Linked DNA regions of Homo sapiens: region 1 is linked to region 2. The links are contacts of gene promoters, found by promoter capture Hi-C in human tissues and cell types (Jung and others, 2019). All regions are on one chromosome and are shown on one strand. Each heading gives the region's core, a stretch centred on a gene start or on the middle of the fragment in contact. The rest is flanking DNA. Distances are from core to core; before and after follow the strand shown.

Evidence for each region. Contacts are between HindIII fragments. The study calls those that stand out against the background at their distance.
Region 1: a contact is called between a fragment that was not itself captured here and the fragment with the promoter of ATRIP in region 2, in 4 of the 25 tissues and cell types used here (IMR-90 fibroblasts, lymphoblastoid cells, mesenchymal stem cells and 1 more).

What each region holds. Positions count from the first base shown.
Region 1 is chr3:48,522,457-48,525,205 of GRCh38, forward strand. PFKFB4 (6-phosphofructo-2-kinase/fructose-2,6-biphosphatase 4) reads right to left here. Exons shown (of 14, transcript NM_004567.4): 11 at 1,245-1,374; 12 at 1,081-1,143. Among named protein-coding and RNA genes, the nearest start is that of SHISA5, 20 kb to the left of the region's middle. The HindIII fragment of the contact is 4,280 bases long and covers 1-2,749 here.
Region 2 is chr3:48,445,330-48,448,029 of GRCh38, forward strand. ATRIP (ATR interacting protein) reads left to right here and starts at 1,408. Exons shown (of 13, transcript NM_130384.3): 1 at 1,408-1,763. The coding sequence starts at 1,517. ATRIP-TREX1 (ATRIP-TREX1 readthrough) reads left to right here and starts at 1,450. Exons shown (of 15, transcript NR_153405.1): 1 at 1,450-1,763. It also overlaps a transcript of CCDC51 not described here. RefSeq lists a silencer at 1,353-1,712. The HindIII fragment of the contact is 4,147 bases long and covers 1-1,606 here.

The sequences.
Region 1 (2,749 bases), core at 171-2,670, 77 kb after region 2:
CACACACTGGAGTGACATCAGCTGCCACTGGGCTTCACAGCCATTCCCCCAAGAGCACCTGTGTTAAAGGTGAAGAGCTAAGACCTGAGAGATGAAGAAGTTGCCTGAAGTCTCTGCTGGTATAGCAAGAGGCAGGGTGGGGACTCACACTGCCCTGCACCCAGAATAAAGTCCAGGCCCTGAGGACCAAGGGGCCTTGTGGGGGTTCAGAAAAATCAGTAGAAAAGCCCCTCATGCAGGTAGGCAATGGTTAAGCAAAGTCACTGGGGAGGTCTTCTGTGGCCACATAAACTTTTTCACAACAAACTTTTTTTTTTTTTTTGAGACAGGGTCTCGCTCTGTCGCCCAGGCTGGAGTGCAGTGGTGCGATCTCGGCTCACTGCAAGTTCCGCCTCCCGGGTTCATGCCATTCTCCTGCCTCAGCCTCCCAAGTAGCTGGGACTACAGGTGCCCGCCACTACGCCCAGCTAATTTTTTTGTATTTTTAGTAGAGATGGGGTTTCACCATGTTAGCCAGGAGGGTCTCTATCTCTTGACCTCGTGATCCACCCACCTCGGCCTCCCAAAGTGCTGGGATTACAGGCATGAGCCACCGCACCCAGCCCCAGAACAAACTTTTTAAAAGCAAATTAGGGCCGCAGATGGTAGCTCATGATGGTAGCTCACGCCTGTAATCCCAGCACTTTGGGAGGCCGAGGCAGGTAGATCACCTAAGGTCAGGAGTTCGAGACCAGCCTGACAACATGGTGACACTCTGTCTCTACTAAAAATACAAAAATTAGCTGGGCATGGTGGCAGGCGCCTGTAATCCTAGCTACTCGGGAGGCAGAGGCAAGAGAATCATCTGAACCCGGGAGGTGGAGGTTGTAGTGAGCCTAGATCACGCCATTGCACTCCAGCCTGGGTGACAAAGCGAGACTCCGTCTCAAAGAAAAAAAGCAAATTGGGAAAGGTGGTGGGGTAGTAGGTGGAGGAATGGGCTCCTAACACAATTTTCAAGGAATTCGGAGAAAATCATGGAACTGTGCAGAGATCCAAGGTCATGGCTACCCATGGTCAATGTGCAGGAAGCTTCCTTACCATATGCCACAGGAGTCAGCTTCAGGACTGTGTGCAGCGGACACTTGAGGTAGGGCAGCTGTTCTGTAGACACAGAGGGGGATGGCTAGCACACCAGAAATGCCTGGTGACAGTGCCTACCTTCTCACACAACCTTCCCACCTCCCCCGGGGCACAGCCCACACCTGCTGCCTTGTCGAGGAAGTAGGCCAGCAGGCAGCGCATCACAGCCTGGTGGCAGATGACCAGCACATTCTCTTGCCTCTCCAGCTCCATGATGACAGGCTCCAGTCTCTGGACCAGGTCCTCGTAGGACTGCAAGGGCAAGCAGAGAGGGGTCCCTCAGGCCTGGCTCCGGGGGAGGGACAGACACATCCTGGACACTGGGCCACCTTCCACTCCTGCAGCTACTCACCATTCTGGGAAGCTGTGGCTGGGCCTCCTCCAGCCTAGCCTTCTGAGGCCATGGGGGTGGGCAGCTGAGGAAAGGGGCCACCTTTCCCACCTCAGGGCTAGGTCCTGGTAGGATTGAGAGCGCAGAGCTAGGCCTCAGGCTCCATCCCAGGGTCCACCTCAGTGCCCACCCATGGGGCTCTGCACTGAATCCTCAGCTATAGAATTCATGTGACTGGTGGAGAAGACCTCGCCTGCTTCCAGCCCACAGCAAACAGAGTGCACTGACAAGAGCGAAGGGGAAGAGAGCAAAGACCTGGAACTTTCTGGAGTGTGACTCATCAGAAACAGCTGGGGTCCCCAGGAACTATCCTCAGTCTACCTGCCCAGTATCTTCCCCCTATGCCTGCCGTGATGTACGGTTTAGGCCCCTGCTGGGCCTCTCAACCTGGCAGGTTTAGAGATTTTCATCAGTTTCATCCTTCTGCACACAATGAGTGGTCCTTCAAAAATGGCCTCCAGCAGTCAGAACTGAACGTGCCCCAAGCTTTGATTAGGAAGCAAAAATGACACGCTGATTTGTGCCAGTTCCTGGTAGTTCTGAGAAAATCCTAGACCGGTTCTTTTGGTAACATGAATTTCTCAACCAATTCTCCTCACTGTATTCTCATGTTTGAGCAGCCAGCTGCTTTGTTTCTCCTGACCGTTATCTGGGTTGGTTCTAAATCTGAACTTGGCCTAACATAATGTGGGGAATAATTAATGTTCCCAAGAGCTATACTATCCTGAGGATGGTACAGTGTAGAGACCTGTCAGCCTGGCTTCTGGGTGGAGGTGCTTCTACATGTGTATATATATGTGTACATATGTGTGTTGACGGGGTGTATTTTTATTTGGCCCCTGCCCCAGGCCACCTCCTGGAAGTGGAAGGAGATGCCTCAGTCAAAGGTGACCCTCAGTTTCTGACCTGGGGCCTGGGCTGAACTGTGTCAGAGAAGGTGACAAGTGCAGTGGCTTGTGGTAGCCAACTCATGTGTGGAAGGTCTCCCTGGGTCTGGTGCCAGGGCTGGGGGTGGTGCCTGGAGCCACAGGAAGGACAGGATGGGCTCAGCCTGTGACAAGAGGAAGCATCCAAAGGAAGGATGAGGCCCGAGACAGGGACTCGAGTGAGCTGAGACCCGAGTCCCAGGCCTGCCATGGTCTCCCCAACTCCCCAGCCATTTGAGCGCCCCGGAAAGGGCTGACAACTCGCTGGGAAAGGAGCTGGCCTGGGAATGCCAGGGGACCGCACACTGTC
Region 2 (2,700 bases), core at 158-2,657:
TATTGAAAACTTTCATGATTAATGTACTAGATATTAACGCGGGAGAGGGGGCAGGGGGAAGCCTGTGTTGGTCCTCTCCAGAAAGTTGCACAGCCAGTAGCACCCTTCAGTAGGCTTCAGGCATTCCCTGTGGGGCCTTGCTAGCTGGCACCCAGCCGTATGCTGCTAAAACAAACCTGAGCACCAGTGATTCACACTGTTCCTGAAAGCAAGTTACTTGGTGGAACCTATCCCTCTTTAACAAATGAACAGTCCTGTCTCTTTCCAGGACCAGAGTCCTGCAGCAATTAAGCATGCAACACTTGGGAAGCTATCTGACGGAGACTACCAGTTGCTCCAAAAAATTTTAAACTCCTTAGACATTATAGGCCCTGATAGCACTCTCTTTTTCATTTACTCTTTTCATTTAATGCTTTCACAAATATTCCTAGGACACTCACAGGTGAAGTTTGGCACTGAGCAGGTAAGGCTGAAAGAGTCTTGCTCCTGTTACTCTCCATTGCCAAATTCTCTATTGCGGCTAACTTCTGCACACCACAGCTGCCCAATAAAATCTGTCAGGCACGCAAGCCCACCTCAAATTGCTGCTCCTTTGTGAAGCTTTACCTCTGTTCGCCACCGGTAACTCTTACCTGGCCTTTGTGTGGCCTCCCTTTCAATGTAGAATTCTCGTGTTAGTCTTATGTGCCAGCCTCCTACCCCTCTATCCTGCTAACTTGACTCAACTTGTAGGACAGCGCAGGTGCCATTTACAGGGGGACTTCCTTGACCTCCTGAGCCCTATTCTATACAACCAGAGCTTAGGAAAAAAAAACAGTCCAGCACTCAGAGGAATGGATGTTAACAGCCTGAGCAGCTCCCACCCCCTCCCACACAAGAACAGCTCCAAACATCATTCCTCCTTGGACTTTCCTCCTCCCTGGGCCTACCTCAAATGTACACATGTGAAACATTCACTAAACCCGAAGATGTCTGCACACGACAGCTCTATTCATACTCCTCACCCAACAAATTCCACTCTCCTCAAGAAAGCCTAGGGGTTTGTGGGAGGTGGGTCTGGCGGCAGAAGGAAAGCGAGGTCACGGAGACCACATCCCTGAATGATGCCTGGCTCGACTCAAACGCAACACGCGTGAATGCTAGGGCAGGCTGCTCCTGCGCGGCCCTCCTCCACGGAATGCCAGGGAGGGAGCGCAAAGCCACCAGCGCGGCGGAGCTGGTGCGCCTCCGGCCCGCCTCTCCGGTAACGGGTCGCGCCGCACTGAGTCCTTGCAGCAAACCTGCCGAATCCCGCCCGTGGACCTCTAAACACCGGGCGGGGCCGGGTGTGGCGGCGCGCTCGGACGTTCGTCATTCCTCCGCGCCCTCCGCCTGCCAGCTGATTGGCCCCTGGGCCAGGGGCGGGGCACTCGCGGCGGAGGCAAGCGGCGGCGCGCGGACGGTTGGTCCAGTTCTCCGGCCTGGCGGCAGGCAAGTCTAGCTCGGCGCTGTCGGATACTTGGGGTGAGCGGAAAGCATGGCGGGGACCTCCGCGCCAGGCAGCAAGAGGCGGAGCGAGCCCCCGGCGCCTCGCCCCGGCCCGCCGCCGGGCACCGGGCACCCCCCGAGCAAGCGGGCCCGGGGCTTCTCCGCAGCCGCTGCCCCGGACCCTGACGACCCGTTCGGCGCGCATGGGGACTTCACTGCCGACGACCTGGAGGAGCTTGACACCCTCGCGTCACAGGCCCTGAGCCAATGTCCGGCCGCGGCTCGGGACGTGTCCAGTGAGTGCTCCTCGCGGCCTTTTGCTCGGAGGGAGTTGTCAACCGCGCCAGATCCCCTTGATGGCTGTGGCTTCGGAACCTCGCGGCCAGCACTGCCTTTTCGCCTTTTTAAAATATGGGAACACCCTGATTTAAGCAGCGGTTGTCTTCCAGAAGGTCCTTTGATTTTAGGGGGAAATGCATTAGCCAGGTCAAACAGCCGATTTGAAACACAGAAGGCTAAGTTGACATTTTACGTTATTTTCTAAAGTTTAGGCCACTTGGTTCTTGGTTCTAAGCAGAGATCCTTGGAACACACCTACCACCACCATCAGAACCATCACTACCCATGCATGGGGACCCATTCTTGTGACAAGTTTGAGCGGCTTTAGATCTTATGAAGCCCACTGTCTCCCTTGGGCAGTGTGAGCATGGGAGGAGCCAGACACAGGCAAGAGATGAAATAAATTTATTCTTTTATACAACCAGTAAACTGTGCTAGGTGCCCAAACGTGAGGAACTGCAGCTGACCTTACAATGAACAAAATACAAAAACTGTCCTTCATGGAGCTTACATTCTAGTTGAGGAGTGAGTGAAGTCTTGAGGACTCCCAGAAAGAGAAATGTTTTGAGTGCACCTTGCATCTGTACTTGGGTGTCTCAAGGCACCTTAAACTCAACACGATCATTTCCTGGAAACCCAGTCCTCCTCCAGCACTTCTAGCATGGTGCCGGCAAAGCAGACATTCAGAGAATGATGACCAGATGTTCCACAAGGAAGTAACTAGCACGACTCTCCATCCAGTGGCACAAAGCGACTCTTCCCCTTTCCTTGACTCTACATCTAATTTATTTGGAAAGCATGTCAAGCTTACCTTCTTAATCCTTCTCTGGAGTCTATCCTATTCACATTGCTTCTACCAGCTGCCTGATCTGTGTTACCATGAGTCCTCTCTTG